Linked DNA regions of Homo sapiens: regions 2 and 3 are each linked to region 1. Evidence: promoter capture Hi-C in 16 types of primary human blood cells and fetal thymus (Javierre and others, 2016). All regions are on one chromosome and are shown on one strand. The core of a region is centred on a gene start or on the middle of the fragment in contact, and the rest is flanking DNA. Distances in the headings are between cores, read along the strand shown. Region 1 holds the start of FAM9C (family with sequence similarity 9 member C). Region 2 has its middle 110 kb from the start of FAM9C. Region 3 has its middle 5.0 kb from the start of TMSB4X.

Region 1 (2,820 bases), core at 233-2,732:
GTCTTCTTTCTTAATGTTACACATCTTAAGCTCGAAAGAGAGAGAAACCTGAAGCAATCATGGCTTAAAATTCCCCAAGATGTCTCATTGGCTAATTTGGGTACCAAGTAGATTGTGGGGAAATGGGGACAGCTGGTGGTATTTAGTGTCAGTAATTAGGGATTCTCTTTAGGTTATAGAGAACTCTTAGATATAAAGGTGAGCTGCCTTGTCAGGGAAAGATGGCTTCCAACCCAGCTGTGGAAATAATCGGGCTGGGCACGATGGCTCAAGCCTGTAACCCCAGCACTTTAGGAGGCTGAGGCGGGCGGATCGCTTGAGCCCAGGAGTTGCAGACCAGCCTGGGCAACATAGTGAGACCTCATCTCTGCAAAAAATAAACAAAATTGGCCAGGAGCGGTGGTTCATGCCTGTAATCCTAGCACTTTGGGAGGCTGAGGCGGGCAGACTGACTGAGCTCAGGAGTTCGAGACCAGCCTGGGCAACACGGTGAAACCCTGTCTCTACTAAAATACAAAAAAAAAAAAAAAAAAATCAGCCAGGCGTGGCGGCGTGCGCCTATAGTCCCAGCTACTTGGGAGGCTGAGGCAGGAGAATTGCTTGAACCAGGGAGGCAGAGGTTGCAGGAAGCCGAGATCGTGCCACTGCACTCCAGCCTGGGGACAGAGTAAGACTCTGTCTCTAAAAATAAATAAATAAATAAAATAAAATTAGCTGGGCATGGTGGGACATGCCTGTAGTCCCAGCTACTTGGGAGGCTGTGGTGGGAGGATCCCTTGAGCGCGGGCAGTTGAGGCTACAGTGAGTAGTGATTACACCATTGCAGCCCAGCCTGGGTGACAGAGCAAGACCCTGTCAAAAAAAAAAAAAAAAAGAAAAAAGAAAAATGAAAGAAAAGAAATGACCACATCATGAGAAATCTAGACATAAAGTCTTTAACTTTGTATATCCACTGCAGAATCATGCAATGCCCAGTGTGAGGGAATGGAGTAGGATAGGAGAAAACTACCTGCCCCTGCTGGGAGTCAACAATTTTCTTAGATAAAACATAAAAGCACAATCCATTGATAAAAAGGATGCAGCTGGGCGTGTTGGAAGCACACAGGACATGGGAGGGAGCCTGGGCTCCACCCGCAGGGTGATGGCCATTCCACCCAAAGGGGCAGGAGTGGCTGGAACGAGCCTGGGGGCAAGGTCCTAGGCCCCGTTCACTTGGCCTCCATTCCTTAGGGCAGGGTCCCCTGGCACTCACCACTCCCGAGTCCTTGCTTCCTTCACCAGGATGAGGAGCTGGAATATCGTGGGGACAGAGGCCTCAGAGAGCCACCCAATGAGTCCACAGCAGCCATGGACAGTCCGTGAGGGGGAGGGTGTGCCTGCAGGGGGCGTGGCCCCATGCCGCCCGCCACCTGCATGCGCACTGGGCCGACCAATCAGCGAGGAGCGCGGGCAGCCGGGGCGGCTGCTGCTCTCGTGAGAACAGAGGACCCAGGCCCTCGGAGGAGCTTCGCGGTGCCAGCCTCTGCAGGTCCTCTGAGGGAGCAACATCAGGGCTCCCTCAGGTGAGACGCCCTCGGTGGGGATGCGGGGAAGGCGGGCCAGAGGCCCTTTGGGGAAGAGGGTGTGAAGGGCGGGGCAGCCAGGCTGATCTGTGAGGAAATGGCCCAGGCATTGTCGCCTGGGGCCTGGGTCAGGGCAGGGAGTTGGAGCTGCCTGAGTGGTCCCCAGGACCCAGGAGGGTCCCGGAGGCCTGTGCATGTGTGCAGCGTTTGGGGGGGGGTCGGGGGGTCAACGTGGGTCCGTCTTGTCTGGCTGCCCATCAGGACGGGATACTTGGGGTCACCAGGGGTCCCCTGGGCGTCCAGGCTGGCGAATGGGCAGTCCCTGCCCCTGTCAGAAACAGGTGCGTACCGGCTCATTCCCATGGAGATGGCTGGGGAGATCCTGTGTCACCCCGCGGCCCTCCCGACTCCACTGGGTCGCTGGGGAACCCAGGGGCAGGGCCAGGCTCTGTCCCAAGGGCACTGCAAGAATCCCGCAGAGGCCGCGGAATTCTGCGAGCTCTGCAGCCAGCCCCGGGGAAGCGCTGGACGGGCCAGGACAGGAGGGGATGATGGCATCTTCTCCGCGTCCCCTCCTGCTCCCACGGGAGACCCGGGGCGCCCTTGAACCTGCGATCCTGATGATTTTCATTTAACACGCCTCGTTTCCTTAGTGTCCTTAGTGTGTCTTTGCACTCACCAGGTTCAGAGGTCGCCTCTAGCTTCCCAGGCCAGTCAGCCACGGAGCCCGTGGGCAGGAAGGGCAGCAGGATGGCTGCCAAGGACCAGTTGGAGGTTCAAGTTATGGCCGCCCAGGAAATGGAGCTTGCAGGTAAACACAGCCCAAGGGGACCTAGAAGAAGGTGCACGCCCAACAGTCTGTCTGCTTTCTGGGCGGGGCGCACATGGGCAGCCCGAGGCCCCCGGCCCCTTCGTGGCTTTGGAGCTCACCGTGCATGTGCTGAGATGCCCCAGGTTTTCAAAGCAGGCTCAAGGGCCTTAGGCTTCCCGTGGGAGGCTCCCCCTCATAGCAGGGTTACAGATGCTCTCAGAGCAGCTCTTCTCCATGGATGCGGTCCTGACATCCAAGGGATCTGACCTGTGAACGTTGTTTACTGGGACTTGAACCCGAAGGGCTTCCAAAAATGCCTCCGTAAAATGGTTAGGAGCCGGCGATTCCATGTATAGCTCTGCGGTAAAGCTTTAATTGGCGGAGAGCCAAAAAAGTCTACAAATAGTACGTTTCTCTATGAAAAATGTCCACAACAGCGTCTTCCTC
Region 2 (2,820 bases), core at 157-2,656, 110 kb before region 1:
TCAGTGGTTGTCTAAGGTTAGAAGCAGAGAGAAAGGAATGAACAGCAAAGAGGCACAAGGAAACTTTTGGAGGTGATGGAAATATTGTGTCTTGATTATGGCAGCGGTTTCATGGGTGTCAAAACTCAACAAATTGTATACTTTAAATGGATACCATTTACTGTACATAAATTATACTACAATAAAGCTGATTTACAAAAAGAGGGAAGCTTCTTGGGGGCCCCTGGACTGGATGAGGAACCCCTTTTCCACTGGGAAGGAAGGGAAGTACAATCACCTGATGGGTTCTTCTGGCCCGCTGCGCAGATAAAACCAATTCACTGAGATAGTGGTACTGCAGTAGAGAAAGAGTTTAATAATCACAGGGCCAGCTAAGTGGAAGAACAAGAGTTTAGTACTCAAATCAGCTTCCCCAAAAGCTTGGAGGGTAGGGTTTTTTCAAGGATATTTTGGCAGGCAGGGGGCTAGGGATTGGGTGTGCTGATTGGTTAGGAATGAAATTGTAGGGTTGTGGAAAACAATCCTTGTGCACTGACTCAGCCTCTGGGTGGGGGCCACGGGATTAGTTGAGTCATGAGTCATGGGTCGGGGTAGAGTCAGTTGGTTGCCATAATGCAAAAATCTGAAAACCATCTCAAAAGACCAATCTTAGGTTTTACACTAGTGATGTTATCTACGGGAGCAATTGGGGAAGTCACAAATCTTATAATTTCTGCCACATGACTCCTGAGTAGTAAGGGATTACAGAAGCAAGCTAGGAGGCTGGGCATGGTGGCTTACATCTGTAATTCCAACACTTTGGGAGGCTGAGGTGGGAGGATCTCTTGAACTCAGCAGTTCAAGGCCAGCCTGAGCAATATAGTGAGACCCTGTCTCTTTAAAAAATAAAAATAAAATAGAAAGCAAGTTAGGGAACAATGGCTGGTTATCGTTTACACCTACATCTCAGCAGAATTCAGGCCCCTCCCATAATCCTAATCTTGTGGCCCTTCATTAGTTTTACAAAGGTAGTTTTAGTCCCTGAACAAGGAGGGGTTCTGGGAGGAACTATTATCATCCTTGCTTCAATGTTAAACTGTAAACTAAATTCCTCCCACGGTTAGCTTGGCCTATGCCCAGGAATGAGCAAGAATAGCCAGATTGTGAGGCTAGAAGCAAGATGGAGCCAGCCATGCTAGACTTCTGTCACTGTCATGATGTTTGCAAAGGTGGTTTCAGAAGGAGGCCAAAGCAGAAATGGTCACAGATCCATTCATAGATGAGGAGGGGCTGCAGAGAGAAGAAAGTGGTTAGCCATGATACTCTTAATGTTTTCTTAGAATGTAATGGCCCAAGGGGTTCTTTCCTGCCCCCTACACAAAGAAAGACCATGGTATTGTAGCAAAGGAAGAGTTTAATAGACAGGCTGGCCACACCACATGGGAGATGGAGTTAGTACTCAAATCATTCTCCAAAGCTCACAAGTTAGGCGTTTCTCAAAGGCATCTTTGGGGGAAGGGGTGGGGGTGGCTAGGCTTGCAGCTGGTTGGTTGGTGCAGAGATGAAATCATAGCCAGTTGCACCTGTTCTCCTGTGTGCTGAATTGCTTCTGGGTGGGACCACAGGAGCAGAGTTGGAGGGTCCAGGTGGAGCCATGGGTGTCAGACATACAAAAAGCCTGAAAAGATATCTCAAAAGGCCAATCTTAAGTTCTACAATAGTGATGTTATTTGTAGGAGTAATTGGGGAAATTGCATATCTTATAACCTCTGGAATAATGGCTGGCAATTGTTCATGTTTGCATCTTAGCAGAACCCAGGCTGCTCTCCTCCCCGCAGCCTGATGGCCTTCCATTAGCGTTACAAAAGCGATTGAGTTTTACGGGAGGCTTTTTATCATTTAAACTGCAGCCTAAATGTCTCTCAAAATCAGCTTGGCCCAAAAGCCCAGGAATAATTAAAGGAAAGGCAAACTGTGGGGTGGGTTAGCTCAGCTCACCGTTACAACTTTTCTCGCAAAGGCAATTTCAAGAAGCTCCCTGCATTACTGCCCACAGCAACGAGTCTCCTTTTAACATGCAGATTCACGTCGATCATAACGAGCTCAACTTGCATCTGAAGACTGGAGACTCTCACTGACACATCTTAACCCACAATGTGTACTATCCAGGCAGAATATTTGCAAGGTCTACCCTTCTCCTTTTAAATCAAAATTCAGCCCACCTTCAGCTTGGTATTCCTGCCACACAGAGCCCCTGAGAGCTTCAGCAGAGAACTGGCTGATGTGTTCTGAGTGTTGTTTTCTTTGATTCCTTGTGAGTGGCATTTTCTTTTATTTCTTCCTGTGTCTCTTTAATTACTGGCAGCTCCAGAAGCAATGAGAAGCTGGGAGGAAAGACTTCGTCAGAAAGCTTCAGGCTGAGAGGAGAGCTTGAAAGATAGGGATCTGCCAGCACCTCTGTGGTTATCGACTCTTTCATGTAACCACTTACCAGAGTATATCAGACAGTATTTTGCAGTAACGAAGACAGAGCCATAGCAACCAGACTACAAAGAGAAGCCCAGGGTTCTGGAAATGGCTCCAAGTCTCTGAAGAGATGTTAGCATTTCACAGCTTCCATTTCTTTTTGTGTTTGTTTCCTTTTGGTAGCCACTGGAGACAAGCCGTGTTTTCTTTACACACCCCAAAACTAGGGAAATTTTTATTTACCACAGCTGGGTATATGAGCCTAAGACTGGAATTCTTCAGTTAACAGTCATGTTAAATGGAAATTCATTTTCTCAGTCAGGAAAACTATCCTCAGAACATATTTTCTGAGCCGCTATCTAATATCTGGTGCTT
Region 3 (2,820 bases), core at 234-2,733, 75 kb after region 1:
CAGGGCCTCCTACCATCTGCCCCACCTGCCTGCACCCCACGTTCCCCTGTGGCCCCTGCAGTCTCCATCTGGTCTCCCTCACAGCAGAGCCCTCCTTCCACTGATTGGAATCTAAAACCCCTTAAAGACACAGCCTAAGTCCCCCCTGTGAATAACAGGAAAATGAAAAGAGAAAGGATATTTAGTAGACTAGCTATATCTTGTAACCTCAGCTATAAGCCCTTTTAAACAATATCTGATTCCATTCTTACCCTATGGAGTGAGTACTAATATCCCCATTTTACTACTAAAGAAATTGAGGCTCCGAGAATTTAAGCAATTTGCTCTTAATCAAATGCCCAGGTCTGTCTACCAAGTCTTTCCACCGAGGCCTATCTCTGCCTTATCTTTAGTTGAAGTATCTTTCTCCAGGACTCCCACCCAGAGCGGACCCACATGGTGCAAAGAGGAAGGCGAGCAGGGGGTGGCAGGAAAGCAAAGAGGAGTGAAAGAACACCCTCGCCTGTGCTCAGTGCTGAGTGCCGTGCTGCTAATTGTCCTGTTTGCTTTATTGATCCGATGGAAACTTTAGAGCCAAAAGAAATGTAAAAGGGGATCTCATTCAACCCAGTTTCCCTTCTGTGGCTTGAATTTTCCTCTACAACATCCCCTCCAAGTGGTTACTCAGCCTCCACACAGCCAGGGAACAATACGGAAGCAGAGAATCTTCGAGTTAACGCAGGGGGCAATGAGTAGCTTAGCTTGGCAGGCACTTGCGTAAAATGAGAGAAAGTGACAGGAAATAACGCTGGGAACCAGGCAGGGGCCAGGTTGTAGAATAATGATAGTAACAATCATGGCTGTACCCATAGCAGTAATAACAGCAAGTGCTTTCTGAGTGCTTTCCATATACTGGGAAGCTTTCCATGTAGTATTTCCCGAATCCTCACACAATCCTATGACAGTGGCACCATTATTCTCCTCATTTTGCAGATGAGAGAATTCTAGAGGGATTAAATAACTTCCCCAAGAAAACACAACGAAAGCCAAAGGCAGGATTTGAACTCAGACTGGCTGGCTCAGAAGCCGCCTCATTTAAACACTACTCTTCTCTAGAATCCTAAGGCCTTTTAAAGGCTTTGTTCCATACGCCAGATAAGGGTAAAGTTATATTCTGTCTCAATCAGCTGTCTAGCTTTTTCATCATGTAGATGTTTTTTCTCTTTTTTTCTTTTTTTTTTTTAAGAAACAGGTTCTCTCTATGTTGCCCAGGCTGGTCTCAAGTTCCTGGGCTCAAGCAATCCTTCCACCTCGGCCTCCCAAAGTGCTGGGATTACAGGCGTGAGCCACCGCACCCAGCCTACATCATGAAGACATTTAAACATAGATATCGTAATAATGTCATATACATTAAAATTTTCCCTGCCCCAATTTTCAAATTATTTCATTACAGAAATTCAATCTGCTCTTTTTCCTCCTCCTGCATGGCCAAGGCACTGGCAATAAAGAGAATTTGTATCCTGAACGTTAGTAGTTTTCCTCAGCTTTTCACTACTTAAATATTTTTCTTTTTCTTTTTCTTTTCTTTTTTTTTTTTTTTGAGTCGGAGTCTTGCTCTGTCACCAGGCTGGAGTGCAGTGGTGCAATCTCGGCTTACTGCAACCCCCGCCTCCCAGGTTCAAGCGATTCCCCTGCCTCAGCCTCCTGAGTAGCTGGGGTTACAGGTGCACACCACCACTCCCAGCTAATTTTTTGTATTTTAGTAGAGACAGGGTTTCACCGTGTTGGCCAGAATGGTCTTGATCTCCTGACCTCGTGATCTACCCGCCTCGGCCTCCCAAAGTGCTGGGATTACAGGCGTGAGCCTGGCCTTACTACAATATTTTTCTAAGAAGTCATTCATATTACAATGGCTAAAAAAATTAGTAGGTTCAATAGCATATTGAAAGGGGAGGCATTACACACTCCCAATGGCTTTCTGTGTTAAAAATGACAAACCTTTGATTCCATTGTGAAGCAGAATTATGCTTAGCAAGTAACAAGTGTTTGTATTTTTTAATGTGTTTTTTCTGTGGGTGCCAAAGCTTTATATAAAATATAGTTCCCAGATCATCAGCAGAAGATGGTTAATAGCTTTATGGTGAGGAAAATGGAGTGTAGGTAATGGAGCACTGGCTCAAATCTGAGGGGAAAACCCACATAGGCCAAGATCAACTTCCTTGGCTGACCCTGACGATTTGGCCTCTCCAGGACTGGCTTCACAGGTGCACAGCTGTGCAGCTGCACTGGGCCTTACGCTCAGAAGTCCCTGGTGCTTGGCTTAATGTACTGCTGCCGCCATTTTGAAATTCTTACCCCACATTTCTATTTTGTACTGTGTCCCCCAAATTCTGAAGCCAGTCCTGCCCTTTTTAGATTCTCATTCTTTGAGTGCCTCCAGTGCTACTGTCTTTTCCTGGACCCAGGAATGGGCCCTTACACACGTGCCTCTTCCTCTGCCTATAATGCCCTCTCAGGTCATGCCCATTAACACTTCTCAGGTGTGGAAACTCCCTGTTCTTCTTGAGCTGAGAAAGTGGTGCCAATTTAGGAAAAAAAAAAAAACTTTTTATTAGGAAACTAGAGGAAAACAAATTTTAAAGTACAAAACAATGGGCTTCTTAACAATGCTATAGAGCTTCATCATAGGTTGATTTGACCGGCAGAGCTTAAGGGCCACAGCATCTTAGTTCCCTTACCCATTCCCAGAGCACCTGGGAGGAGGTGCGGATACCAGACCAAGGTTCTCAGACTGCTGGCACCAGTAGAGCTGGTGGCACCAGTGCCAGAATTGGAATTCTT

What was found. Contacts are between HindIII fragments. The CHiCAGO score rates a contact against its expected background, and 5 or more counts as called.
Region 2: a fragment that was not itself captured here is called in contact with the fragment with the promoter of FAM9C in region 1 in 3 of 17 cell types (activated CD4 T cells, non-activated CD4 T cells and naive CD4 T cells); the score reaches 7.0 in activated CD4 T cells.
Region 3: a contact is called between a fragment that was not itself captured here and the fragment with the promoter of FAM9C in region 1, in 7 of 17 cell types (naive CD4 T cells, non-activated CD4 T cells, activated CD4 T cells and 4 more). The highest score is 14.3, in naive CD4 T cells.

What each region holds. Positions count from the first base shown.
Region 1 is chrX:13,043,282-13,046,101 of GRCh38, reverse strand. It overlaps FAM9C (family with sequence similarity 9 member C), which reads left to right and starts at 1,482. Exons shown (of 8, transcript NM_174901.6): 1 at 1,482-1,562; 2 at 2,245-2,373. The coding sequence starts at 2,313. LOC105373133 (a long non-coding RNA gene) reads right to left here and starts at 1,369. Exons shown (of 4, transcript NR_171577.1): 1 at 1,253-1,369. The HindIII fragment of the contact is 8,868 bases long and covers 1-2,744 here.
Region 2 is chrX:13,151,725-13,154,544 of GRCh38, reverse strand. No RefSeq gene overlaps it. Among named protein-coding and RNA genes, the nearest start is that of FAM9C, 110 kb to the right of the region's middle. RefSeq lists an enhancer at 1,560-2,159. The HindIII fragment of the contact is 1,970 bases long and covers 422-2,391 here.
Region 3 is chrX:12,968,693-12,971,512 of GRCh38, reverse strand. No RefSeq gene overlaps it. Among named protein-coding and RNA genes, the nearest start is that of TMSB4X, 5.0 kb to the left of the region's middle. The HindIII fragment of the contact is 1,164 bases long and covers 902-2,065 here.